7 separate regions of the Homo sapiens genome follow, and all the other regions are linked to region 1. The links are contacts of gene promoters, found by promoter capture Hi-C in blood cells and fetal thymus (Javierre and others, 2016). All regions are on one chromosome and are shown on one strand. The core of a region is centred on a gene start or on the middle of the fragment in contact, and the rest is flanking DNA. Distances in the headings are between cores, read along the strand shown. Region 1 holds the start of TTC14 (tetratricopeptide repeat domain 14). Region 2 overlaps ZMAT3 (zinc finger matrin-type 3). Region 3 holds the start of ZMAT3 (zinc finger matrin-type 3). Region 4 overlaps GNB4 (G protein subunit beta 4). Region 5 holds the start of GNB4 (G protein subunit beta 4). Region 6 has its middle 8.8 kb from the start of ACTL6A. Region 7 overlaps ACTL6A (actin like 6A).

Region 1 (4,018 bases), core at 874-3,373:
GAACTAACCAAAGACAGAAAATCCCACGCTGAGTTTTGAGTACATTTGCTTAAAGTGCATTTCTTCTGTCACTACTATACGAAAAATATCACTCTTGATAAATGCTGTTTACCCCCTAAAAGGAGCTGCTTTCTATGTTCACGGCCATTTCAGATGTTCAAGGTATGAGGTGGGGGAGGGTTATCCTAGTGTTGGAATTAGGAAGAAGTATAGACAGATCCCATAGTGATAAAACCATGTGCTACTGAAGAATGGCCTCAGAAGGTGACATTCCCAGGCTAAGTAACACTATTTGGTGTCTGGTTCTCAGACACCGGTTTCTTAGTCCCTCCAAAAAATGAGGTCCTTGATCACAGATTGACTCTAACACAAATCACATACTTATCAAGATGTCTATAATAATTTTTAGTGGTCAGCTTTCCTTTTCAGTGACAGCACTCTTTCCTAAAAACAACCATTCTCTAGAGTTATGGCTTAAAACAAGTCAGTCTGTACCATTTATTAAAGTTGATATGCCTATAGAAGCTTGAAATTTATTTATTTATTTATTTATTGAGACGGAGTCTCCCTCCGGCGCCCAAGCTGGACTGCCGTGGCGCGATCTCAGTTCATTACAACCCCCGCCTCCGGAGTTCAAGAGATTCTCGTGCCTCAGCCTCCCGAGTAGCTGGGACTACAGGCATGAGCCACCACGCTCGGCTAATTTTTGTATTTTTAGTAGAGACGGGGTTAGGCCATGGTGGCCAAGCTGGTCTCTGAACTCCTGACCTCAAGTGATCCACCCTCGGCCTCCCAAAGTACTGGGATTACAGGTGTGAGCCACCGTGCCTAACCCAAATTTATCTTTTACAGTTGCATTCTTGTTTGTTGCATTTTCTCAAGTCTCAAACTGTTTACCTATTTGCCTGGGTTTTCCACAAAACAGTGTGGCAGTATCGATTATGTTCTGGGCTAGATCTCCTATACAAAAGTGGTAACACAGTGAAAGGCAAGTTGATTTCCTCAAAGACACATGGTGGGAAGTGGAGAGACTAACTGTCACCGTTTATTTCTGTTCAAGAGGACTATACTGAACTATTTACACTGAACATATTTAAATGGTACAAATTTTATACTGGAATAAAACGAAGCTACATGATCTCAAAATTAGGGTTAGTTAGACCTTCCATATGATAAAATACTCAATCCAGCAACTCTGCCTGAGAAGACCAATTAATACTTCGTTTGGAATCCTAACTCTAGCCTCTTACTAGCTGTGTGCCATTGAGCAATTTACTGGGACTCTCTGAGCATGTTTCCTCGTTTTCTAAAATGAAAAAGTACAATAGCTACCATAGTGGTTAGGTTCTCAAGTCAGTAAGTAAGGGGATGGGGGACCTAAGTTGAAATTCCCTTTGAAAATCACTTGAATTGTCCATAAGAACAGTATATTGACTTTTGCGTACATACCACTATACAGTAAGTCCCACAGACACTAAATTTTGAGCAACCATTGAGATAAACTAAATAAGAAATGCATGTGTTCATTAGTTATTGTAAAACTTGAATGGCATATGCACGTGTGGAGACATTAAAGCCATCCTGGTTTTAGAATTCACAATCACTAACAGTAAATGGGGTATGGATGGAGAACACCACTCCAGGTGCTTAACAAATGTCCGTGTCCTTCCTTTCTTCTGCCCTTAAAACCACCTGGAAACCTTCCCGGAGCAGCCGGTTGAATGGGGTTACGCCAGAGACACAGGTATTGATTTACGCAGAGAGTACGTCGAGGGAAGAAGCTTGGAGACTCGTATAGGGTTCTTACCCTGGCACTGGCACTTAGAAGCACCTTGATGAATACGAAAAGGAATTATTATTTACCCTAGGTTACAGCTCGAGCTATTTCGACGTAATAACGATCCCACGTACACTTTAAAAAGCAAACTTCTCACATACATCACTTCCTGGAAGCCCTAGTCAGCCTTTAGCCCAAGCAATGCTGAGCCCAATCCTTCGGCCTTCCGTAGTCTCGCTCGGTTTCGCGAGATCGAGGCTGAGCTCCGCCGCGCCGCCGTGGGGGCGACCCCAGAACACTTCCGGGTGTAACTGGTTGTGCTGTCTGTGTACTTCCGGCAGCCTCCAGACAGTTTCTTCCGCTTCCTGTACCACCCGGCTCAAGTAGCGGACACGGAACAGGGAACTATCAGCCCGTCGGCCTCCGGGCCCTGCATTCTCTAGCCATGGACCGGGACCTTTTGCGGCAGTCGCTAAATTGCCACGGGTCGTCTTTGCTCTCTCTACTTCGGAGCGAACAGCAGGACAATCCACACTTCCGTAGCCTCCTGGGGTCGGCCGCCGAGCCAGCCCGGGGCCCGCCGCCCCAGCACCCGTTGCAGGGCAGGTAATGAGACGTTGGTGCCACTGCGCCACGGAAGAGGGGACGCAGCTCTGGCAGCCACTACCGCAGCCCCGGGTTTGCGTCTAGAGGAAGTGGAGCCGCGGCCGTGAGCACAGGACGATCGCGCGCTGGTGTCTTGGGCTGGGTGGACGGGGGGCGCTCCTGGGTTGTGCAATGCGGGATGCGGGCTGAACTTTTTCTCTGGCACTGCTTGGTAGAGGCGCAGATTCCTTAGCTAAAAATCCCTTGAGCTTTCCTATCTGAGTTGGAGGCGTCACTTTTTAAGTTTCCCCGCTCTCCACCTCCAGGTTGGTTAATGAGGGAATGCCTAGTTAAAACTTTTTGTCTGAGGTTGTATTGTCTGCAGCTTAGGATGGAGCGGAATGGGCGATGAAAGCCATAAGCAGAAGGTTAGAAGTAAAGAGGCTTTGCAGATAACCCAATTTTCATATATATTTTTTTCTTTTTAAGAAAAGAGAAGAGAGTTGACAACATCGAGATACAGAAATTCATCTCCAAAAAAGCGGATCTGCTTTTTGCACTTTCCTGGAAATCAGATGCACCTGCAACTTCTGAAATTAATGAAGACAGTGAAGGTCAGTTTAGCCTTAAAATCTTTAAGATTGCGGTTCGGTTTAACAGTACTTCAGGTGAAACGGAACTCAAAACTATCGTTAGTGATTTTGTTAATTTTTTTTTTTTAGATCATTATGCAATCATGCCACCTTTAGAGCAATTCATGGAGATACCTAGTATGGATCGGAGAGAGCTGTTTTTCCGAGATATTGAGCGTGGTGATATAGTGATTGGAAGAATTAGTTCTATTCGGGAATTCGGTTTTTTCATGGTGTTGATCTGTTTAGGAAGTGGTATCATGAGAGATATAGCCCACTTAGAAATCACAGTAAGTTATTTTTGTTACTTGGATTGCTTCTGTTTTTGTTAACGCATCTCAATGCAAGAACTATATCTTTGCATGCAGTTGTGCTCAAGTATACCTGCCAAGATGCTTTTGGAAATTAAATGTTAATTGGAGAAAAATAGTTTAAAAAAATTAGTGTAAGTTACCCAGTTTCTCCCTCCATTTCTGGTTTTTGGGATTTTTTAAATTTAAACTGGTTGGCAGGCACAGTGTTCTTTTCTAAATGCTCAAAGAGGTATCAGTGGACGTGGTGAGGTTGATTGATATTCAGACTTATTTCTTGTAGTTGAACATATGTATTCTTAATTAGTTAATATTTGGCATTGTATATTTTCATGTGGATAATTTGGAGAGAAGTTTCATTTATATATTTACAATAATTAAATGTAAGTGGTTTGTACATTATATTAAGATACTTTGCCCAAGATGGATAGTCCTGAATTTAAACTAATGTGTCACGATAAAAGATTGGGTATTTGCCATCTATCCAGGCAGATAAAAAGGAAGAAAAGCAGAAGGTATTACAGATTGGATAACAGACAAAATACTTTGGAGAATTGGCATTTCATTTTCACTGGAATCCTTATACCTTTTAGACAAATTTTAGTTTGTTTTTGATGCATGTTGTATACTGTCATAAGCCATCATATTTGGTTCCTAAACTAATGGAAAGTTTCATGAGATTTTAGTTTTTTAACTGAACCAGCAAACATATT
Region 2 (4,018 bases), core at 648-3,147, 1.6 Mb before region 1:
ATATTTAGCAGCAAAATGAATAACCTACTGGCCAATAAGAAAAGCCCTAAATTGCTCAAAACTAAGCAACTCTACTTTATAGATTACTGAAAAAATAATAATAATAATAATAATAAAAGGGTTATTATACTAAGAGTCACAGGTCTAGATAGAATCCTAACAGAATAGTATTTGATTCTTCTGTTTCTGGGAGAAGAAAAGTTACAAAATAATTCTACTTCTCAAAGAACCACCACTTCAAGAGAAGACAGTAACTGGATACTATACAAGGGTTAATCACACAAAACTCGTTTTTAAACATGGGTCTGAGTTGTTTAAAAATTGTCCCAAAGTATTACAGAAGAAGAATGATTGTAATTTGCCTTCCCCAATTTTTTTTGCCTACAGAATTATCAAGAAAAAATAGAAGTTTTACCTCTAATTAGTAATACAAGCAATCAAATGTGAACTGACCATTGTGCAAACATACTGCTTAAAATATAAACTTCCTGATCAAGTGGGCTTTCAAAAGAAATACGGATGACCACTGGTCTTACCCATATAAAATATAGTAAATAGATAAAATGTAGTTAATGAATATTCACAGAGCACTCCATTAGTTAATCTAGATATATATTATAGCTTCTTTTTTTTTTTTTTTGGAGACGGAGTATTGCTCTGTCGCCCAGACTGGAGTGCAGTGGCACGATTCTTGGCTGACTGCAACCTCCACCTCCTGGGTTCATACAACTTCTTATTTTAAACGCAAAAAAACAAAAATAATAATACTGATATAATTATCAGATGCCAAAGTGATCTATCATATACTTGTTAGTATCTTCAAGAAAGCCGAATTACAAAGAATAAAACCATAGTTCGTGTATATTTCTACTGGAAACGAAGATAGTGAAACTTTATTTGCTTTTTAAAAAATTCCTCTGTGTATAAAACAGCAGGTGGTGATATTTTTCAGGATGGCCACCAGACTGGCAAGACAGAGGAAAATGTAAGTAAACCGTAAGAATCAGATTATCAAAAAAGTCTGGCAAAACAAAATATCAAGCAATCTGAACTTATGGTTTAGATCATGATATAAGCGCATGTTACTATCAATGAAGTAACTCTAAATTGGAAAATCAAACACACCTTTGTTTCCTAAAAACTGCTGGAAAATATATCTATATATATATATATTTTTTTTTTTTTTTTTTTTTTTTTTTTGAGACGGAGTCTCGCTCTGTCACCCAGGCTGGAGTGCAGTGGCGCGATCTCGGCTCACTGCAAGCTCCGCCTCCCGGGTTCACGCCATTCTCCTGCCTCAGCCTCCAGAGTAGCTGGGACTACAGGCACCCACCACCACGCCCGGCTAATGTTTTGTATTTTTAGTAGAGATGGGGTTTCACTGTGTTAGCCAGGATGATCTCGACCTCCTGACCTCGTGATCCGCCTGCTTCGGCCTCCCAAAGTGCTGGGATTACAGGCGTGAGCCACCGCGCCCGGCCCTATTTTTTGAAATCATATCCATCTTAAACTCATTGAATATTCAAATATGAGGCTTGGAAAACCCACAGCACAGCTGGGGCATGAAAATGGGCTTGTTAGACAAGCTGATTCAACTAGGGGGGAAAAAAGAGGAGGGAAGAAGGCGGCAATTATATGTGTGAAATCCACAACTGGAAATCAAGTTTAGCTGTTTGGAAGTATACAAGCTCATTGGGAGTATTTGAATTCAAGAAAATTTGCGCTTCAATGATGGGGAGACATGATACAGAAAAAAAAATGTCCTGGGAAAGACCCTAACAGTTTCTAATAATGTATCCTACTGACAATGCATTGAGGTGGCGGTTCTGGTTAAGCCCTGGGAAACTGAAATCTCTGCTGACCTATTTTTACTTTGATCTAAAAAGAATTCAATACAATTCTTTAACAGTACATAAAACTACAATTGCAAAAGAAAATGGCAGAAAAAAATGTCCCGGGAAAGACCTTAACAGTTTCTAATAATGTATTCTACTGACAATGCATTGAGGTGGCGGTTCTGGTTAAGCCCTGGGAAACTGAAATCTCTGCCAACCTATTTTTACTGTGATCTAAAAAGAATTCAGTACAATTCTTTAACAGTACATAAAACTAAAATTGCAAAAGAAAATGAAACTTTTAAATAGTCAAAGTTCTAAGCCGTCAGGCTACTAGTTGACCAGAACTTGAGCAAGATAAAAAGTTATTTCTGATGGGGTAGGTAGGTCACATGCTATGAGCGGCTCAACACCATTGACCCTGCAAAAGCGTTATGACCTAAGAAGCACGTTCTTCACACCCACCTCCCCCCGCCCCGCCCCCGGGCCCCCAGGTTTTGACATCTCATGGTACCACTGTGGGTTACATGTATTAACATTAAGCAGAGGAATGTACTCATATCAAAAAGACCACAAAGCAGGGCAAGTTGACAAAAGGCAAACAACAGGCAGGAAAAGCTGCTCTATCTTAATATGATAATCACTATACATATCCCAGATTCTCCATCTCATTCCTGTACCGCTGTTCAGACACCTTGCTCTTATGTTGCTTGCTCTCTAAATGCTGCCGGAATTCCATCTCTTCGCCAGCTCCAACATTACACATTGAGCAGTAAAACTGGCCACTTGGAGTAACACACATGGCCAGATCACGTGGAATTCTCTGCCGAGAGCGGGGATTGAAGTAAGGACCTGCTAAAGCAAGAGATAAAAATAATATATTCAAAATATTCATTAAGTGAATGACAACCTGACCAATTATCACTGTAATTTGTAATTCTAAGTTCAAATTATAAAATTCACAGATTCTTAGCTTTAAGTGAATGTGAAGTTAATGGATTTTTAAAATTACAATTTTACACAGGTTCGATCTAAAAAGATAAAATGATTCCTCCAACCATTGTCAGAAAAATTGCTGTAGAGCCAAACCCAAATTCCAAATGGCTGTGTCTCTAAAAAAGTGAATACGCTTTTAAAAATACTTTAATTTCCAAGCATTATATCAGAAGTCTTATGCTTATGCTAACCCTTTAATCCAAAAATTCTACTTGTAAGAATTATCCTAAGAAAATACTAAGAATTTTCACACTGAGATTTAATAGCAATATGTTTATCTCAGCAGTGATTATAAAAGCAAAAATTTAGGGGGAAGAAGAGATTCAAAAATAGGATTAAAGAAAGTATGGTAATGAATGCAATGGAAAACTATGCCATTGCTAAATATAATAATGCTATAGAAAACTCTTACGCTATTAAGTAAACTATGAATATCCCAAACTAGGATCCCATTTCTATTTTAAAGAAGTCATACATATGAAGAGACTAGAATGAAATCTGCAAAAGTGTTGGTGACATTACTGATCATTTCATTTTCTTCTTTTTACATTACTGACCTCATAAGCTGGACGCTTAGTTCGTTAACTTTATGCTTTTCACTTCCACTATAATAATATATAGGTAATACTTTTCTCAAAATACTGCTTTCACTGCATCCTACAAGTGTTAATATATTTTCATTACTGTTTCACTGTAGGAATTTTTAATTTCCAGTATAATTGTTTCTTTGAACCATGAGTTATTTAGAAGTGTTTTTAAATTGGAAAACAAATGGAAATTTTGTTTGCTTTTCTATTTTTGTTGTTGACATCTCATTTCATTGTACTCTGGTCAGAGAACATAATCTATCCTAAAATTTATTTTTCTGATATTAATACAGCTATCCCAGCTTCTTTCATTTCAGATGGATTTCTTTCATCCAATTTAACATTTTTTGGACTTTGGTAATTTTACATTTATTACAATTATTAATATATGTTTAGACTTTTCTTAATCATAATGAATTGTGCTTTTTTTTTTTTTTTTTTTTTTTTTGAGACAGAGTCTTGCTCTGTCACCCAGACTGGAATGCAGTGGTGTAATCTCAGCTCACTGTAGCCTCCACCTCCCAGGTTCAAGCGATTCTCCTGCCTCAGCCTCCCAAGTAGCTGGGATTACAGGCGTATGCCACCATGCCCAGCTAATTT
Region 3 (4,018 bases), core at 606-3,105, 1.5 Mb before region 1:
AGAAAGCAAAGACAGATATGGTCATTTTAGAAAACGGAACTAAGTAGACAAAGAACAGCTTTTAAAAAGTTTAACTACCTAATAATAATAATTCATAATGTTGAAAAGCTACTGATGTCAAATTGCCACAAACATTCTGCTAGTTCATTAGTGAAAAGGTGGGGGGGGGTGTCAAAACCTCTGGATAAAGGAAATCAGCAATATAAACAGAAAATCAAATGCTACCAATTGCCTAGGCATGTCTGGACTTGTTTTATGAAAGCTCACTTTCACTTGAGGAAATTCTAGCATGTGTCTCCCCCAGTGTTATCTACAGGTTTCCCTCAAAATAAAGATCCTTCTCAAAGAACAGAGGCACAAAAGGCCTCCTACCAGAGGTGACAGTTACCTGATTTAAAGAAAAAATTCTTGCCAAACACAGATTTACCCATTATCACATTTGATCTTTACAATTTTTAAAGAGTAGCTTGATATCCCAAATTTATTTCTTGTTATATTTAACAATCAACACAATGTCGACTCCTCAAAAAAATCTATGTATGACAATTGCATCAAATATTAGTACATTTGCAAACAAAAATTAGTATAAAATATAAATCTTAAAATGAATAAAACCAAGTCTTCAGTGAATGCATGAATGATGGAATACAGAGACCCAAAACATGCAACTCAGATCTGTTCAACTGTTGCATTGGTTTAAAAGGGACTAATTTGAAGACTGGCATAAATATTCTTCAAATCTTAAAAACCAGTCACTTTGATGCTTGCGATGGCATAAATGAAGGATTTATGCTGGTTAATGTCCTGGTTTGGAAAGGAGCTAAGACGACATTAAAGAAAATCAAAGCTTCACAAGGTACCCTGTTTAAAGAAAATTAATTGTCATAGCATACTTAGTTTTAATGATTGGACTGGGGCCTACTCTTCACATACTGTGTTAAAGACAATCTCTTGTCTCATTTGGAGAAATCTACAGAGGAAAGAGAATAGAATAAAGGAACAGGTTAGGAGCACCTCAGCAAACTAGGTAAGTCTGTAATTGGGAATTCTGGAAATGAGGGAAAGGCAGCGAGCATTACTCAGAGGTCATCAGAACGCAGCAAGAAGGAATGAGAGGGAGAAAAGTTAAAAAAAATAATAATAATAATCACTTGAGGCAAGGTGTATCCTATAAAGAAGGCTCAAAAGAACGCAGAAAACTGGGGAAGAGGCCTTGGTGAATTGGCGAATGTTTTTCAGTCTCCGCTGTGACGGTTCCTAATCCTAGAGAACTGTTTACAGATTTGAATCAAAGCTACAGACAGTTCAGCGTCGCCCACATCCACCTTACATTCCTAAGATGTGCATGCATACACACGAACCCACACACGCACCTCAACCCGGTATGGATGCCATCACGAAGGATGGAATCCCCCGACTCCCACGGGGCGGGGGCAACTGAGAGGGCCAAGGCAGCTGCACGCACAGATGATCCACCTGGTCCACGTGAAATGCCTGAAACAAGCAAACTGATAAATAGAAGCAGCGCAAGCCCTGTCACGTGGAGGGCAGATGGAAAGAGCATCGGAAAGGAACCGCTAGTCCCCGGCGCTCCAGGGGCTCGTCCTGAAAGCTCCGCGGCTCCCAATCGCCCGCACTTACCGGAACCCCCGGGACGCGCCGGCAGTCTCCGCGCCGCGTCCGCCCGGGACGCCCGCGACGCCCGCCCTGCGCGCCCGGCTCGGCCCAGCTCGACCCAGCCTCTTCTCGGAGCAACTTTCTCCGCCGGCCGCCGCCGAGCCCCCTCCGCAGCCGAAGGCTGACTGTCAAAAGTCAGTCCAACCCGACCCACAGGGAAACAGCTGCAGGAAGTGACTGCGGAACCGGGAGGCGGTGGAGGAGGAGACTGAGGGCGCCGGCTCGGCGTCGCCACTGCGCATGTGCTTGGCGGAGCAGGCCCGGCAGCGGTGGCAGCGGTAGCAGTGGCGGCTCCCGCATCCCCGGCGGGCGGCGCGTGGGTCAGGTGCCCTGGCCGCGAGCGCAGGGGCGCGGGGTTAGGCCGGCGTGGGGAACAAAGGCACGAGTGAGAGGCGGGAGGGTCCCGCCGCCAATCTCAGCAGACAGCCCCGAAGAGCAGTTCAGCAGATGCCCTGGAAAGTTAATCCTTGGTAGAAGCCTGGGCAGAGCTTTTGCAACTTTCATCTCCAGTCATTGGGATCCAAACATTGTTCATTCTGTTCCTCCCTTAGCCTGCTGGTTGGCGGTTAAGGCGGCTGAGTGGATCCTTTAAACTGCTGCAACAGAACCTTTAAACTGCTGCTCTCCCCACTTCCGCCCCAGGATGGAGGAAGAAGAGCGTGGCTGCCTGCCCAGTATCGGCCTCCCTCACACAAAACGCCCCCACCCACCCACACACACACCTTCCCTCCCCTACACGAAAGTGAGCAGGAGATAGAGGAGACTTTCTCCTGACCCCCAGAGGCTCACCTGCAAGACAGGAAGGACCAGGAAAAGAGTGGCCAACGCTAGGATGTCACATCCTTCATAACCAACCTGGACATCTTCAATGTTAACACTGAGTGATGAGCTGAGGAAATTCCGGCTCTAAACTTATAGCGTAAATTAACTCGTATGAAGATCTGCTGGGGTATTATTTTTGTGTGTGGCAAACGATAACAAATATACTACTTTAAGAGTACAGGCCGGGCGCGGTGGCTCACGCCTGTAATCCCAACACTTTGGGAGGCCGAGGCGGGTGGATCACGGGGTCAGGAGATCGAGACCATCCTGGCTAACACGGTGAAACCCAATCTCTACTAAAAATACAAAAATATTAGCCAGGCGTGGTGGTGGGCGCCTGTAGTCCCAGCTACTCGGGAGGCTGAGGCAGGAGAATGGCGTGAACCCGGGAGGCGGAGCTTGCAGTGAGCCGAGATCGCGCCGCTGCACTCCAGCCTGGGTGACAGAGCGAGACTCCGTCTCAAAAAAAAAAAAAAAAAAAGTACAGTTCAGTGGCATTAAGTACATTTGCATTATTGTGTGGTTATTTTTTAAAACACGAATTAAAATGCCAAGGAGATCTAAGTATAGTAAGATGTGCCCTATTAGTAGGGAAACAACTGCAGGAAATCAAGGCTGTTTCTTTGGCTGAAAAATGCACCAATCCAATACCAACAACAACAAACCATAAAAGACTTCATAAGTACAATGAATATGAAGTACAAACATATACACACAGTGTACACCAGCCATTTGGGGAGAGTAATCCATCACCTGAATTGTTTTTCCAGCTGTATAGGTACATTTACTTTATGTGTCACTATTTTAAAGGGCTATATTGTTTCTAAAATAATAAATGCTGCTAAAATCCACTCTCCAGCCCCTTTTCTATATGGTCTTTAGCCAGTCTTAGAACTTCACAGTCCACACTCCTTATCTAGGACCACAAGTAGGCCTTGCGGAGCCTTTCCGATCTGACCTTCCACCAGTCTCCCCTCATCATTTCACTCACACCCCCATCCATGCCCCTTCATTTCCTGCCTCTGTAATTTAGCTCTGTCTGCATCTTGAATACAAAATGCTTTCTCTCCCCTCCCCTTGAATTGTCAAATCCTACCTGTCCTTCCAGGCCTCTTCTTTCATGAGGTCCCACAGCACTTTTCTCCGCACACCTTGATGACACACTATTTGTTGTCCCACATTATAATTACTTAAGAGATATTTCCTCTGCCCTGTAAATACCTTGAGTCCAGGAAGGATAAATGTCTTGGAGTTTTCAAGTTTTATGTTTGATAGTTTGATGTGTTCTTGTCCATCAGGATGAAAATCTGAACAATTCCATGTTCTCTGCTCACATACTCTTCTCAGACAGCTAGGGCATTTCCTTCCCTGCCTCGGGGAGAAAGAAAAGGCAAATCTGATGCTTGTGTAATAGATATTTGAAGCTCATGGCAGTGACAGTAGTCTCATAAGTCAGAGTTTGTAGTTTAGAATTGGCTGGACTTCATGAGTTTCAGCACATGAGGTGAAAGGAAAAAAA
Region 4 (4,018 bases), core at 604-3,103, 1.2 Mb before region 1:
GGGAAACAAAGAAAAAGCAGTTCCCTCACCACCATCACTCCGTGGATGGGGCACCGATGGGATGACGGGTGAGGCAATCTGTCCCAGACCCGGGCCCTTCCTGCACATTCTGGCTGGGAATGCCAAGAACACAAGTCCCTAGTGGCTGTTACTTGGGCCATCTCTCAGGGTTGTTTTGCAACATGCAACCTCAAGGAATAAGACAATGTCTCCTCATGAGATGAAGAGCAGAATGGCTTCTATTTACTGTAAAAGGGGTAAAACCCCCAAGCTCAGTGTCTCTAGGCTGTGATGAAATCCAGTGCACGTGCAGCATCCATCTGGGCCTACCTGTGTCACCCTGTGGGCACTGGGGAACACCGGGAATCAACACAAAGCATCATCACACCATGCTACTCACCGTTGAGTAATAAAATCTTTTGTCTCTGACCAAGGAGTTTCATCAAACAGTAACAGACTCATTTATTCGCTTGTAAGTAGGTAAAGATCCCAGGTCCTTTACAGTCATGGATATAGGGTTCAGAAGAAAAAAGATGAGGGGTCCAATGTGGAAAATAGTGAGTTTGTGGCTCATCCCTTCTTAACCAGGCTTCATCCAGTACTTCATCAGGCATTCTAGGTCCAGAACTTCAAGCCTTTTCACAGTACCCTAGCCTGCCTGCCCTTCCATCTTGTCACACTCAACAGCAAAAGCAAAACCCTGGATGAAAGCAGCTACCTACTTTCTTTCAGCCAGCACTCAAGTGGCCAAACATTGATTGAGAAAGTCAAACAATGGGGCATATCAGTTCTACTACAAATTCACATCACCAATCTCAACTGGGCCCTCAAAACTACCTGGCAACCCTGCACAGCTTTGTATGCACTGCTTCTGCTTTTGCTATCAAATATTTAAATTCCTTTGCAATCTTTTCAAAATTTTGACCTTCTCACAAGCCCTCTTGCAGCAGATGACCTTGCCATCTATATCATAAAGTAGAAGCCATCAAACATGAACTTTTTCAATCTTCCACTACTAGATATACAAAGCTATACATACATAACTGACTCATATTCCTCATCTTCCTTGTGTGTGTGTGTGACTGAGAGAGAGACAGACAGACAGACAGACAGACAGACAGACAGACAGACAGACAAAGGCCTCACTCTGCTGCCCAGGCTGGAGTGCAGTGGTGGTTAACTGCAGCTTCAACCTCCCAGGCTCAAGCAATCCTCCAGCCTCAGCCTCCCAAGTAGCTGAGCCCACAGGTGGGCACTACCACGTCAAGCTAATTTTCTTTTTTCTTTTTTGGTAGAGACAGGGTCGCCATGTTGCCCAGGCTTGTCTCAAACTCCTGGGCTCAAGCGATCCCCCCCACCTGAGCTTTTCAAAGTGCTGGGATTATAGGCATAAGTCACTGTACCTGGCCCTTCCTTTCTCTTATAATAGAATAGCTGACTTCTTTCCTGTTTGGGCCAATTCCTCCACTGGTGATTCATTCATTCATTCTGAGACAGGGTGTCACTCTGTCAACCAGGCTGGAGTGCAGCAGCACAATCACAGCTCACTGTAACCTCAAACTCCTGAGCTCACCCAATTCTTCCACCTCAGCCTCCCCCAGTAGCTGGGACTACAGGCATGCATTATCATGCCTGGCTAATTTTTTTTTTTTTTTTTTGAGAAATAGTGTCTTGCTATGTTGCCCAGGCTGGTCTTGACCTCCTGGCCTCAACTGGTCCTCCCACTTTGGCCTCCCAAAGTGCTAAAATTACAGGCATGAGCCACCATGCCCAGCCCCTCCACCAGTGATTTAAACTCTCACCTTTTAAGTAATCTTATACTTCCAGTATATTCAATCTCTTACACTTTTCTCTATTTTTAGTCTTTTTATTTATAAAATGTTCTAACACAGAGAAAGACTGAACAACCCTAATATTCATCATAGCTTCACAAAGTATTAATTTTTTTTGCTGTATTTGCTTTATCTTTTGTTTTTGCTGAAGTATTTTAAAGTCAGTTACAGACATCAAGACATTTCAGCCCTAAATACTTCAATATCTACCAAACCACAATACTATTATCATAACTACCAAAATTAACAGAAATTATTTAATATCTAAAACCCAGTAGATTTTCAAATTTTCCCAACTCTTCCACCAATGTCTTTTTACATCTGATTTGTGCAAATCCAGATCCAATTAAGAACTATATAATACATTTAGCTATGTCTCTTGTCCCACCATCTAGAAGTATCCATCTCCTGCCTGCTCTTTTGCACTTTCTGACATTGACTTATTAGAGAAACTAAATCATCAGCCAGGTGCAGTTGCTCATACCTGTAATCCCAGCTCTTTGAGAGGCCGAGGCGGGTGGATCACTTGAGGCCAGGAGTTCGAGACCAGCCTGACCAATATGGCGAAACCCCATCTCTACTAAAAATACAAAAAAATTAGCCAGGCATCTTGGCAAACGCCTGTAATCTCAGCTTCTCGGGAAATTGAGGCAGGAGAATCGCTTGAACCCAGGATGCAGAGGCTGCAGTGAGCTGAGATTGCGCCACTGCACTCCAGCCTGGGTGAAGAGTGAGACTCTGTCTCAAAAAAAAAAAAAAAAGACTAAATCACTTGTCCTACACAATGTACCCCAATCTGTTTACTTCTTATGGTACTGTTTAACTTGTTTATCTTCTATACTGATTGCTTGTAAACTGGAAGGAAGTTAGATCTACCGGCTAGATTATATTCAGGTTCAATATATTTGGCAAGAATCCTTCCAGGTGATGCTGTGGACTTCATACTGTAGCACATCAGGATGAACTTAATGTTTCTTTGTGCTACTATCAGTGAAGCTAAGATTCCTCAGTGTGTTCAGCTGTTAACAGCTTAATTTGTCCACTGTGGAGTTATAATCCCTCACTCTCATCCAGCAAACAATCTGTGGAGAACCTTTCAGTTTCAAGTGGGTCTTTTCCACCAGCAGCTAAATAGGCCCAAGTCCCTCCCTTAAAAAGAAAAAGAAAAAAGAAAAAATTCCTTGACTCCACATTGCACCATCACTTACAGTCCTTTTTCTTCCCTTCACCAAGGACTTTTAAAGAGAACTGCCTACACATGACCCCACTTTCTCACATGAAATTCTCAGTTCTCAAACCTCATGTCCAGCAGGCTCCGGCTATGTTTGGGCAGGCATGATGGAAAGGGAGCGTAGTTATGAGGCAAGGGGCTGAGAAATGTTGCTAAGCTGCAAAATCAGAACCCTTGTGATGCCTGTGCCAGACAACCGCAACCTTTCTTTGGATGTCTAAAAAGAAATGTCAAAGCTGCCCTTTTTTCCCCTTTCCTTTTTGCTGCTAAAAAGAGGAACTAACTTTTCACTCTTTAAAAAAAAACACAACTGATTCATTTTGTCACTTGGGAGAGAGAACATTCTGATTACACAGATTTTTGGGTGATCTTTTCTTCTCAGCCAACAACTGTTGGATTCCTGAGAATACCAATAAAGCATGAATCTAGCACAGACCAATAGATTATAAACTACTCTAAGACAAACCTAAAGGCTGACTAGGGTAAAAAAAGGCCATAGGATGCCCCAGGTGAAGCCTAATATGGCAAGTCCTAGTAAATATGTTTTGAAGGTAAGGATCCAAAGTGGCCAAACTGTATTGACATGTGTGTACACAATATGACTATAAAAATTTTTAATTCTTGGAAACAATACTATTACATCAGGTATAGTTTAGTAAGTAGCTCCCTCAGGCTGTTTATCAGAAGCATGCGTAAATTCAGGGAAGGGCAGGTTTTTAAGGACACATTTTGACAGCAGAAGAGAAAGTCATCTAACCACTTGCCCTCCTGCAGTTCCTTTACATCCATAGTTTAATAAGAAACAGAAATCAGGGAAGTGGCAAAAGGATGTCTGAAGCTTTGTGATGTGAGGAAAAGAAAAATATGGAAAGTGGAGGGGGGGTGGAAATTGGCAAGACAGTCACCCACTACTGAAGAAATCCTCCATTGGGTCTTAGCCAGGCGGACTAACTGC
Region 5 (4,018 bases), core at 848-3,347, 1.2 Mb before region 1:
AAAACATGGGACAGACAATAATGATCATGCTGGAAAAACAAACATGCTTCTGGCATGTCTTGGATATTTTACACACATGCTAATGAGTAATTGAGGGTCACTCCTCATGCCCTCGAACTAAGTTAATATGGCTCAGGGGAAAGAACATGGACTTTGGAAACAGAGGGGTCTTGCTTCGAATCCCAGTTGAGTTACCTAACACCTACATGACCACTGCCAAGTTACTTAAAACCTCACAGACAATTTCCTTACCTGTGGAAGTAGATAATGGTGTTACTGTGAGATATAAGTAGAATAACTTACAGCACTGCCCCAGCCCAGAAGAGATATTTTAATAAATAAGTCCATAACAGACGCAGATTAAAATAGTCAGCAAGGTAAAGAAACTGATGATACAGCCAGCTGACTTCAATAACATGCCTAAGAGAAATCACACCATCTCAGGCAGTATTTGGTAAGGCCAGAAGAATGTCCAACACTTAGTTCCAATTCTTAATTTTCAAATTGCCCCAGAGTCTATTTTTAAAGTGTAAAAGTATGTGCTGACATACTTACATGCCAATTGTTTAAAAGAAACAATTCTACAGGTTAACAAAGGCCAAAGACTCGGAATAACTTCCTAAATAATGTTTATGGGCCCACAAAGAGTTGAACCAACCTAAAATATCACAAGCTGTATCAATCAGTTTTATAAATGTATATACAGAGGGTTGACAACGTTCAATAAGATGATATTTTAAAAGTTTCTATTTCAGTTTCAAATTCATCTACAAACCAAAATGCAACATGGAAAATCTTAAAATGTCTTTAAGCCACATACTGAAATATACAGTAAATTTTCAGAGCCTAGGATCAGTAGTAAACCAAAAGCCCCAAACTGAAGAGTATTAAAATGAACAATGGCAGAGACTCGAAGCACACAATTTTGAATGCACCTAATCAGCCGTCCTCCTCTCCGACTAGAAATAACTTCCCTCCCATCTTAAATTAAGTAGCGTGTGTTCTGTCTCTGTCCTAGAAGATGTACTTAATGGTCATAAACTCTGTTTGCAACACTGAGACGGACTCATAATAAAAGTTCTAATCAACAATTAAATTTTGAACGTTTTAAGAAAACTTCCCGCTAAGCCACACGCCAAGCTACTTTGTCGGTGGCTGAGAGGGAGAAAGATGCATCCTTATCCTTTATGGAAAGAGAAAGGGAAGGAGTGGGAGAAAAGGGAACACAAGGAGACGAAAAATAACAAAGTATTGCTTGTATAAACAAATGAAAGCCTGGTTTCAAACTTTTGAAAATTCAACGTTCCCTTAGCGAATAGCAATACATATCAAAGTATATGGCAATCATCTGTGTTCTGAAGCAGAAAAAGGTGGAGAGAAAAGCAAAACACTTTTTATTGTACTGAACTCACAAGTATTCAAAATTCATCAATCCCCTCCCATCCCCAAACTCTGGACATTATATCATTTCCAAAATAAATCTGAAACAAAACCATTGGACTAATTTTGGACTCAGCGTAGAACTTTTATGAGTCTTCCAAGCACTCTCCACCCAACAGCCCTGCTGGGCAGTCCCGAATACCCGTTATTTTGGGGGCACGCACGGGCTCGTGCTCTGAGTTCCTGGAAGGAGGCCTCGGGGAGTGACGAGAAACCAGGGGGGTCTGCAGGACTTGGACCGCCGACCGTTCCTCGCTCCCCGGGGCGAGCGGTCTGGACCGCCCGGGAAGTGCCTGCGCCGGCGGTCGTGGGGCCAGTTCCCGCGTGGCAGCTGGGCGCGACACAGGCGCGCCCTCCTCGTCCCTCCCGGGCAGCGTCGGCCGCCCGAGCCCGGGGAGACCCGCCCCGCCCCGCGCCGTCACCCGGGCCCCGTTCCGCAGGGGTGGCTCGCGGCGCCCCACGTCCCTGCGAGAAGCCCGGGATCGCTTCGCGGGGCGCACCGACGAGCCGCCGCTCGCGAGCTCGCCGCCTACCTGGAGGGAGCTCAGGCCCGCGTCGACCGCGCGCTGCCGGTGTCCGCTGGGCGCTCAGCAGCCCCTGGAGCGCGGAGCCGGCGTGGAGAGCGCAGCTCACAGCCGAGACCAGAGCCGCCGGCCACACCCAGTCCCGCACCTCCCAGCAGCCAACTCCGCGGCGCGCCGGAGCCGGGGCGGGGACGTGGCTGGAGGCGCGAGGCGCGAGGCACGAGGCGCGCGGGCCCGGCGGGGACGTGCCGGGGACGCGCAGACCCTCGGAGCGCGCGCAGCCCGGGCGGGGGGCGAAGGGAGCGGGCGCCGCGCGCAGCTTCTGCTTCCTATTTTCTCTCTCGTTTCCTGCCAGAAGGAGAAGAAAAACATTCATTCCCGGGCAGTTTCGTTTTCTTGTTGGTGTGGCGCCGGGGCACGCTGCTAAGTAGCGCCCGTCTAAGTGGCGTGGCCAGTTTCCTTTCCGGCGCTGACAGGCGCCAGTTTGCTTGTTAGCAGGATCGAAGGGCAGAGCTAGAAGACCCCAAAGGCCCCATTTAGGTTTCCCATTCTGGAATTCTAAATGTCAGAAAGTAAACTGAAGCCCAGAGTTGCACAACCTTGCGTTGCAGTCCCCGCTCTTCCATCACTAGTTGTAGGACCGTGTACCGTCTCGGGCCTAAGTTTCGTCATCGCCAAAATAAAGATACTGATACCTGCCTCATAAAGGTGCTAAGCATATTAAATGAAGTGATGTTTGCACGAAGCCTGCCTCCAAATAAATGGCCAATACTTGGAAGTTATTGTTCCTATTGTCATTGATAAAACTGGAAGGCCTTCCAGATATCCCTGCCAAGTCGCTCTTCTCTGCATGAGTTAAACACCACATGCATCTCAATCGAGTTTTTTTTTTTTTCACATTTATCTGGGTGTTTTATGTTTAAAATGTCATAAAATAAATGCATCTATCCAATTTGCTTCCTCTGAAGTCAGTACCGCCTGGGAGCATTTTTCCTCTCCCCACCCCCATTTTTCTTCTGAGTTAATTCCAGTTTGACAGACTGTTGCTATAGCATTCCTTCTCTGACGTCAAACAATTTAAAGAAACAGCCCTGGGTAGCGAAAACTGCAGAGGAGTTCTTTGTGGAGTTTCTGTGCCGGAGAAATGTTCGAACAATATCATCAGATAACTTTAACAACCCCTCAGCCTTCCAATCCTCCTTCTGTAGCTGCTTCCCACTATCACCTGGAATAAATCTATTAGTCCCTTGAAAGAGGTGATGCCATGATAAACACACCCTGTTTGTGACTGTGGGGAAAATGTGACCGTTTTGTATAAAAGCCAGGCCGTGACAAAAATAGAAGCAGCTGTTTCTATTTTCTTTATCCACAGATAAAGAAACTGTGGATAATTTTTCCCCCAAAATTTTCATTTTTACTAATATTAGGAGCATTTTTCCATTAAGAAGAAAGAAATGCCAAATATTCTGCATATCAAAGTGTCAGAAGAGCTCGTTGGGACATGAGTGTTTTGCATCTGTAACTATTTATGTTTTAATGATTAAATCCTGAGTTTTATGATTGTCGTTTTTCGGAGGAAGCAAAGGGAAATTGTTAAAGAGTGCCTATTACGGACCATGCTCTCTGCTTTCTTATACTGTACTTAATCCTCATAATTACCTTGAAGTGTGAATTTTATCCCCATTTTACAGATAAGCAAACTGATGCCCTGGTAAGATTAATTTATCGGAGTCACGAAGGTATTGGTAGAGCCCTGCATGACATCAGATTGGATCAACTCCAAAGCCCACATTCTTTCTTTTTTTTGTTTGTTTTTTTGTTTTGAGACGGAGTCACTGTGCAGTGATGTGATGTCAGCTCACTGCAACCTCCACCTCCAGGATTCAAGCGATTCTCGTGTCTCAGCCTCCCAAGTCTGGGATTACAGGCACAAGCCACCACGCCCGGCTGATTTTTTGTATTTTTAGTAGACACGGGGTTTCACCGTGTTGACCAGGCTGGTCTCAATCTGCTGACCTCAGGTGATCCGCCCACCTCGGCCTCCCAAAGTGCTG
Region 6 (4,018 bases), core at 805-3,304, 1.0 Mb before region 1:
AATTTTACCTAAACTTGCTCTATTTTACATTATTATCACTAAGATCATAATCACAACTTTTATCTAATTTTTTTTTTTTTTTGAGACAGAGTCTTGCTCTGTCACCCAGGCTGGAGTGCAATGGTGTGATCTTGGCTCACTGCAACCTCTGCCTCCCAGGTTCAAGCGATTTTCCTACCTCAGCCTCCCAAGTAGCTGGGATTACAGGCGTCCGCCACCACACAAGGCTAATTTTTGTATTTTTAGTAGAGATGGGGTTTCACCATGTTGGTCAGGCTGCTCTCGAACTCCTAACCTCAGGTGATCACCCGCCCACCTTGGCCTCCAGAAGTGCTGAGATTACAGGCGTGAGCCACTGTGCCCAGCCTTTTTTTTTTTTTTTTGAGACGGAGTCTCGCTGTGTCGCCCACGCTGGAGTACAGTGACACGATCTCGGCTCACTGCAAGCTCCGACTCCCGGGTTCACGCCATTCTCCTGCCTCAGCCTCCCGAGTAGCTGGGACTGCAGGCGCCCGCCACCACACCCGGCTAATTTTTTTTTGTATTTTTAGTAAAGACGGGGTTTCTCCATGTTAGCCAGGATGGTCTCCATCTCCTGACCTCGTGATCCGCCCGCCTTGGCCTCCCAAAGTGCTGGGATTACAGGCGTGAGCCACCGCGCCCGGCCCAGCCTAATATTATTTTTTAAACTGTGGTTTATTGCAAGCTGCTGACCCTGAGCATACAACAGGAATAAAGCAAAGAAAACTAGGAAAATATGTAAATTTTGACAAGTATAAAGTACAGACGAGCATTGAAAAGAAAGAGACAAAAGTGATTGTATATAACTAGTAATATGTACATTTTAAAATGTTTCATTTTGTACCATAAATTTGTTTTAAGATGATTGCTTTTTAAAAAACATTTAGGCCAGGCATGGTGGCTCACGCCTATAATCTCAGCACTTTGGGAGGCCGAGGTGGGCTGATCACCTGAGGTCAGGAGTTCGAGACCAGCCTGGCCAATATGGTGAAACCCTGCCTGTCTCTACTAAAAATACAAAAATGAGCCGGGCATGGTGGCAGGCATCTGTAGTCCCAGCTACTCAGGAGGCTGAGGCAGGAGAACTGCTTGAACCTGGGAGGCAGAGGTTGCAGTTAGCCAGGATCGCACCACTGCACTCCAGCCTGGGTGACAGAGTGAGACTCTGTCTCAAAAAAAAAAAAAAAAAAAAAAATTTAAACTTTTATACTAAGAAAAGCTTTTACAATCCCAGGTTGAGGTTTTAGTCCTTAGGCTAACATTTCGGTACATATTACATCAGGCTTTTTTCCTTTGCTTATATTATCTGCTTATCTATATAAAGATATAGATATAATTTTACATATAGACATATATAACTATATTTTAATATATAATTACATGTAGTTACACACATAATATATAATAATTATATATAATTATGTAGTTACACACAGTTTTATTTGTATAATTTTTACACATAACTTTTAATAAAATAACAACATACTCTATAAATACACAATCTGGTTTTTTGGGTTTTTTTTGAGATGGAGTCTCTTTCTGTCGCCCAGACTGGAGTGCAGCAGTGCAATCTCAGCTCACTGCAACCTCCACCTCCCAGATTCAAGCGATTCTCCTGCCTCAGCCTCCGGAGTAGCTGGGACTACAGGCGCCTGCCACCACACCCAGCTAATTTTTTTGCATTTTTAGTAGAGATGGGGTTTCACCTTGTTGCCCAGGCTGGTCACGAATTCCTGAGCTCAGGCAATCTGCCCGCCTCAGCTTCCCAAAGTGCTGGGATTACCGGCGTGAGCCACATTGCCCAGCCTAATACTGCATTTTTACATTTGTTTTATTTCTCTTGACTGTGAATGGGGCCCATGTAAGATCTGTTTGTGTGTATAATAAGTTCTTATAAATTTTAACTTTTTATAATAGATTTGTGTATTACGTTAGTGAATGATAGCTGGTAACTGCATATATCTTATGCATTGATGACATGCCTTTTTCTTAACTTTTTGGATATGTCTAGGCTATGCAGTTCATTTGTCAGTCTTTTGAAACTGTCACTGATAAAAATTTTCCAATATATTTATTGAAAAAAATTCATGGCCAGGTGTGGTGGCTCACACCTGTAATCCCAGCACATTGGAAGGCGGAGGCAGGTGGATCACTTGAGGTCAGGAGTTCAAGACCAGCCTGGTCAACATAGCAAAAATCCGTCCCTACTAAAAATACAAAAAAAAAATTAGCTGCACGTGAGGGCACACGCCTGTAATCCCAGCTATTTGGGAGGCTGAGGTAGGAGAATCACTTGAACTCGGGAGGCAGAGGTTGTAGTGAGCAGAGACCACGCCACTGCACTCCAGCCTAGACAACAGAGTGAGACCCTGTCTCAAAAAAGCAAAAAACAAATAAACAAACAAAATCACATATTTTGAAACTGCACAGTTCAAATCCATGTTGTTCAAGGGTCAAGTGTATATGGAATGATCACAGGTTCTACTTGTAAATTATTCTTCTTGCTTTTGTCATCCAGTCTAGAGTCCCTATGTGCTTCTGGATCTGGCATACCACAGATAGTACAGAGGCTTTTAAATCCCTGTGGGAGTTTATCAAAGTCTGACAGTTGATATCCAAGGTGAGTGATCCTAGAGTATCATAACATGATTCTCTAGGTTATATGAGGTAAGGGGAGGAGTGGCAAGGAGAGTGTGCACTCAACAATGCTAACTTCGTAATATCAAGTAGGCACGATAGGCTGATTATGGCCTAATTTAATGCTCAAATTCTTCAATAATTTAGTTTTTCCTTCTGGATTATGACCATTTGGGGAGCAGGTTTTATTAGAAATTAACAAACACAATAGTAAGCTTAAATATAGGCTTTCGTCCAGTCAGTTTAGGTAGAGCTGGTAACTGGCATTTATTTGAATAATTTTGCAAAGACCAATGATTTTCATAACTAATAATTAATCCCTTCTCATTTGTATAGTGGTTAGTAAGAGGGGGAAAATAAAAATAATAATCTCCCTGCTTCTCATAGATTTTTCCTAAAAAAAAAAAAAAAAAAAAGAAAGAAAAAAACTTTCCCACCTCCCTCCACCTCCTGCTTAAAAAAAATAAGGGCTGGGCGCGATGGCTCATGCCTGTAATGCCAGCACTCTGGGAGGCTGAGGTGGGCGGATCACAAGTTCAGGAGATCGAGACCATCCTGGCTAACATGGTGAAACTTCGTCTCTACTAAAAATACAAAAAATTAGCCAGGCGTGGTGGCGGGCGCCTGTAGTCCCAGCTACTCGGGAGGCTGAGGCAGGAGAATGGTGTGAACCCGGGAGGCAGAGCTTGCAGTGAGCAGAGATCACGCCACTGCACTCCAGCCTGAGCGACAGAGCAAGACTCCGTCTCAAAAAAAAAAAAAACAAAAAACAAAAGAACAAAAGAAATGCCTTTTTCCTTCATTCCAACAAAACAAAACAAACTCTATAACCAATCCCTGGTTAGAAATGTAGCGCATACTACATGTTAGGTGTGGCAAATGACTTTTCTTTTGTTTACTATTGTTTTAATCATGTGTCAGGGTGGAGAGAAACAACTTTAAATGGAAGAAGGAATTGTGTAGTCACCACCCACATCTTCTCAAGCATTGGTGGAAGCCTCAGCCTAAGTGGATATTTGGGATCCATTCTTCAAGTAGCAACTGGAATGTGCTAGCAGCCACTTTCACATTAATGGGAGAACTGTTATAGCCCTTGAGTGAAAGCATGGCTTATTTCACCTAGTTTCCCTGGTGCCAGGCTTAGAGCAGAAGGTCAAAAAGTTAGCAGATCAGAAGTTTTGCTTGTAAATTATTCTGCTTCTTTTTTCATCCAGTCTTAGAGCCCCCCAAAATGCACTCTTGGATCTGGTGCACTGTTGTTGGTACGAACAGTAAATCACAGGCTCTACCTAAACAGCTAATGAATGAACAAAACATCTTATATAAAAGCTCCATCTTAACAGAAGTTTAAAAAAGTTCT
Region 7 (4,018 bases), core at 664-3,163, 1.0 Mb before region 1:
TATGTATGCACAATTTCAACTTTAATAGATATGACTAAATTGCCCATAGTGGTTGTCCCACTTTGGACAATAAATTATAGAATCACCCTAGTTGATGGTGGAGGGAGGTTGCTGGTATATTTATTAGCCTGGTTCATTCACCTCAGGGTAATCCATGGCTAACTGCATCCCCTCTACTAAAAGTCACAGCTCCTGTCAGGTAGCCCTCCCCATACAACTTTCTCTCCAGATTCTGATAACAGTTATTTCTTCTTGTTTCTTCAGTTTGAAGAATGGCAATGGATCCATTATTATTAGTTATCATTATAGTACTGGGGTACTGTACTGTCCCTTCTGGTTGTCCTGTATTTCACCTATATCTTTGCAAATAATTCCCTTTAATAAGTAAACTGAAATTACCCAGTTTTAGTGTACCATTTCTTAACTGATTGAACCTCTACTTAAATACGGTGTATGCCTTGTTATATTTTAATTAAATGATTCTTTAAGGTGTATTTGAAACTAGGTTCAAGTGAGTAATAATATGAATATAATTGGGCTGAGTGCAGTGGCTCATGCCTGCAGCACTTTGGGATGCTGAGGCAGAGGATTGCTTGAGCCCTGGAGTTTGAGTCCAGCCTGGGCAACATAGTGAGACCTTATGTCTACAAAAAATTTAAGAAATTCATTGTAGTCCCAGCTATTTGGAAGACTGAGGCGGGAGGATTGCTTGAGCCTAGGAGGTTGAGGCTGCAGTGAGCTGTGATTTTCATATGATACTTTTGCAAGCTGTTAATGCTAATTATCTTTAATCTTTTCAGATGAAGTTGGAGCCCTTGTTTTTGACATTGGATCCTATACTGTGAGAGCTGGTTATGCTGGTGAGGACTGCCCCAAGGTAAGTGTAATGTTAGAGTTAATTGGATATGTAAAGCCATTCATGTAAATTAAATTTATGCAGAAATTCTGATTCAAAACAAAATATAATAAAATACATTAATTGGGGAAAAAATGCCTTCTTGATGAAAGGTGAAACTTGTATGTCATGTTTCTGACTCTTACAGGTGGATTTTCCTACAGCTATTGGTATGGTGGTAGAAAGAGATGACGGAAGCACATTAATGGAAATAGATGGCGATAAAGGCAAACAAGGCGGTCCCACCTACTACATAGATACTAATGCTCTGCGTGTTCCGAGGGAGAATATGGAGGCCATTTCACCTCTAAAAAATGGGATGGGTATGATGTTTTCCCCATGGAATTGATTATGGAGTGTACATGTTATATTTTAGATACAAAGTAGTAGCTTCCTATAAGTTGAACATCAACCATGGTTTTTTGTTTTGTTTTGTTTTTTATTCCACAAACTGATTTCCAGACACTGAGAATACAAAGATGCATAAGAAATGTTCCTTTTCATTAAAAGCTTACAGTTAGTTGGGGGAAATAGATGTATATATACAAATAATGGTACACTGTGGGATAAGTGGTACAATATAGGTATGTGCAATGAGCAATGGGATTAGAGAGGAGAGGTATTTGACTCTAGTGTTGGGAGTCAGTGATGGTTTTCACAAAGGAGGTAACATGATGAATCTTGATCAATGAGTAAGAATTAGCTTGGCTGACAAAGCTGGGTAAAGCAAAGGGACCAGCATGTGTGAAGGGATGGAATTGTGAAAGAAACTTATGTGCTTGAAAATGTAATACAATTAAGTATGGTTGCAGCATTGGGCTTATTAGGGTCAGTAGCAGGAAAGGTAGGCAGAGAGCAGTAGCAGGAAAGGTAGGCAGGGAGCAGTCATAAAAGGGCTTGTAAACCATCCCAGGGTTGTATTAAGCTAGTGACTGAAGGATAACCCCAAAGGAATTTAAACAGATGTGATGGTCAGAGTCCAGATGAGAAATGAAAAAGGTTTAAACTATTATATAATGCTGGTAGAGATTCTGAAGGGACTTTCAGGGTAACCAGGAGACAAATGGTACTAAATGATCGAGGGAGTGAAAGCAAGAGAGAAGTTGAGAAAGTTTCCTAGATTTTTGGTTGGGGTAACTCTGAACAGAGAGTACCATGCATTGAGATAGGAATATAAAGGGAAGGAGCAAGTGTTACGGTTTTAAAAGGCATGGTTGGCCATGCGTGGTGGCTCGCGCCTATATAATCCCAGCACTTTGGGAGGCTGAGACTGTGGGTGGATTGCTTGAGTCTAGGAGTTTGAGACCAGCCTGGGCAACATGGCGAAACCCCATCTCTACTAAAAATACAAAAATTTGACAGGTGTGGTGATGCGTACCACCTGTAATTCCAGCTACTTGGGAGGCTGAGGCATGAGAATCACTTGAACCCAGGATGCAGAGGTTGCAGCTGAGATCTCATGACTACACACCAACCTGGGTGACAGAGTGAGACTCTGTCTCAAAAAAAAAAACAAAAAAAAAAAACAAGCTTATCAGGGATAGCCAAAATCACTCTCAGGTTCAATTATTCACCAGCAAGACTCACTCACAGGACTCAGCATATGGTTGTATTCACAGCTAAGATTTATTGTACTGAAGATTCAGATACAAAACAAAATCGACAAAGGGAAAAGGGACAGGGGATGATGAAGTCCAGATACAGGCTTTGGAGAGTCTTCTCACAGTGGAGTCACACAGGATGTGCTTAATCCCTCCAGCAACAAGTTATGATCTGTGTTACCTTCCAGGAGAACTCTGAGGCTCAGTACCCAAGGATTTTACAGAGGGCTGGTTATGTAGGTACCATCTACCTGGCATGTAACAAAATTTTAGATTCTCAGAAGGAAAGCAAGTGTTCAGAACAAACCACATTGTATAAACAGTGTAGGTATAGCGAGCTACCCTTACCATTTAGGGACAAGTTTTATATGAACATAGGGAACTGTTTGCCAGTCATGTTTCCAGACACCAGCTAAGAGTCAGCCTTACAAGCAGGCCTTTCTCAGGCTTGCAGTGTTAACTCTTTCATGTGTAGTAAGTAAATGGGTTCACTGAGTTCAAAGTACTTAGAACATCCAGGTGATAATTCAGTAAACGGGAATAAAAGGTTATAAGAAAGATTTTAAGACATGGAGTTGCATTTTATTACTCTGAAAAAAATTGGAACATGAGAAGAGGATTGAAGATGGAGTTCTAGCAAAAACTTGTTGTATATTTTAACCAATAGAGAATAAAAGGTACCCTTGAAGGAGAAAGAAAGGGAACAATTAGGGATGTAGGAAAAAAAGCAGGGGAAGAACAAGAAAAGAAAAAGTTTCTGGAAGCATAAAATTCCAGTTATTCTCGGTGTTTTCTGCTGTGACATTGAAAGCTTTACACTAAGAAAGAAGTTAAAAAAATCCAGGTGGGCCTGTGGAAATATATAATTAATGACATTTTTTCTTTGGGCTGTGACAGAAAAGTTTGTAAACTCTTGTGTAGGCAATACTGTCATAATTTAGAGAAGTCAGATGAGATTAAAAATGTTAAGTATCCATGAATTTGCCTAGTAGAAGGTCATTAGTGGCTGGGGGCGGTGGCTCACGCCTGTAATCCCAGCACTTTGGAGGCTGAGGTGGGTGGATCACCTGAGGTCAGGAGTTCGAGACCAGCCTGGCCAACATGGTGAAACCCTGTCTCTACTAAAAATGCAAAAATTAGTTGGGTACGGTGGCGGGCACCTGTAATCCCAGCTACTCGGGAGCCTGAGGGAGGAGAATTGCTTGACCCCAGGAGGCGGAGGTTGCAGTGAGCTGAGATTGTGCCATTGCACTCCAGTGTGGGGGACAGAACGAGACTCCATCTCAAAAAAAAGAAAAAAGAAGGTCATTAGTGACTTATGTCAGTAGTTTTAATGGAATGTTTAGGTGGAAGCCAAATTGAAGACAGATGCTCTTCTTTGAATTTTTAACATGTCTTTTAGTCTTTTTCCAAATAGATTGTAAGTTTTTTTGAGTGTCGGGTCTAGACCATACAATTCTTTCTTTTTTTTTTTTTTTTATAAATCCAGCAGTAGTATCATCAGAAGGCCATACAATTCTTC

What was found. The method cuts DNA at HindIII sites, captures the fragments that hold promoters and counts their contacts. A CHiCAGO score of 5 or more calls a contact.
Region 2: a contact is called between a fragment that was not itself captured here and the fragment with the promoter of TTC14 in region 1, in 1 of 17 cell types (non-activated CD4 T cells). The highest score is 5.7, in non-activated CD4 T cells.
Region 3: a contact is called between the fragment with the promoter of ZMAT3 here and the fragment with the promoter of TTC14 in region 1, in 5 of 17 cell types (total CD8 T cells, naive CD8 T cells, M2 macrophages and 2 more). The highest score is 7.6, in total CD8 T cells.
Region 4: a fragment that was not itself captured here is called in contact with the fragment with the promoter of TTC14 in region 1 in 1 of 17 cell types (monocytes); the score reaches 6.3 in monocytes.
Region 5: the fragment with the promoter of GNB4 here is called in contact with the fragment with the promoter of TTC14 in region 1 in 2 of 17 cell types (M2 macrophages and monocytes); the score reaches 6.2 in M2 macrophages.
Region 6: a fragment that was not itself captured here is called in contact with the fragment with the promoter of TTC14 in region 1 in 4 of 17 cell types (total CD8 T cells, total CD4 T cells, naive CD4 T cells and 1 more); the score reaches 7.2 in total CD8 T cells.
Region 7: a contact is called between a fragment that was not itself captured here and the fragment with the promoter of TTC14 in region 1, in 6 of 17 cell types (total CD8 T cells, naive CD4 T cells, naive CD8 T cells and 3 more). The highest score is 7.8, in total CD8 T cells.

What each region holds. Positions count from the first base shown.
Region 1 is chr3:180,600,040-180,604,057 of GRCh38, forward strand. TTC14 (tetratricopeptide repeat domain 14) reads left to right here and starts at 2,124. Exons shown (of 12, transcript NM_133462.4): 1 at 2,124-2,383; 2 at 2,852-2,976; 3 at 3,085-3,284. The coding sequence starts at 2,223. It overlaps TTC14-DT (TTC14 divergent transcript), which reads right to left and starts at 2,074. Exons shown (of 3, transcript NR_183700.1): 1 at 1,864-2,074. RefSeq lists an enhancer at 1,915-2,204. The HindIII fragment of the contact is 2,365 bases long and covers 1,780-4,018 here.
Region 2 is chr3:179,022,539-179,026,556 of GRCh38, forward strand. It overlaps ZMAT3 (zinc finger matrin-type 3), which reads right to left. Exons shown (of 6, transcript NM_022470.4): 6 at 1-2,690. The coding sequence ends at 2,479. Among named protein-coding and RNA genes, the nearest start is that of ZMAT3, 47 kb to the right of the region's middle. The HindIII fragment of the contact is 6,996 bases long and covers 1-4,018 here.
Region 3 is chr3:179,069,954-179,073,971 of GRCh38, forward strand. It overlaps ZMAT3 (zinc finger matrin-type 3), which reads right to left and starts at 1,856. Exons shown (of 6, transcript NM_022470.4): 1 at 1,642-1,856. RefSeq lists silencers at 1,583-1,732, 1,873-2,282. The HindIII fragment of the contact is 9,531 bases long and covers 846-4,018 here.
Region 4 is chr3:179,428,981-179,432,998 of GRCh38, forward strand. The region is part of intron 1 of GNB4 (G protein subunit beta 4); the gene reads right to left. Among named protein-coding and RNA genes, the nearest start is that of GNB4, 20 kb to the right of the region's middle. RefSeq lists an enhancer at 3,287-3,346. The HindIII fragment of the contact is 4,091 bases long and covers 1-3,899 here.
Region 5 is chr3:179,449,373-179,453,390 of GRCh38, forward strand. GNB4 (G protein subunit beta 4) reads right to left here and starts at 2,098. Exons shown (of 10, transcript NM_021629.4): 1 at 1,974-2,098. It also overlaps the pseudogene RPL29P34. RefSeq lists silencers at 1,669-2,078, 2,119-2,268. The HindIII fragment of the contact is 16,902 bases long and covers 1-4,018 here.
Region 6 is chr3:179,552,123-179,556,140 of GRCh38, forward strand. No RefSeq gene overlaps it. Among named protein-coding and RNA genes, the nearest start is that of ACTL6A, 8.8 kb to the right of the region's middle. The HindIII fragment of the contact is 1,633 bases long and covers 1,239-2,871 here.
Region 7 is chr3:179,569,024-179,573,041 of GRCh38, forward strand. ACTL6A (actin like 6A) reads left to right here. Exons shown (of 14, transcript NM_004301.5): 2 at 801-877; 3 at 1,044-1,218. LOC124909462 (a long non-coding RNA gene) reads right to left here. Exons shown (of 2, transcript XR_007096181.1): 2 at 2,500-2,747. Among named protein-coding and RNA genes, the nearest start is that of ACTL6A, 8.1 kb to the left of the region's middle. The HindIII fragment of the contact is 1,020 bases long and covers 1,404-2,423 here.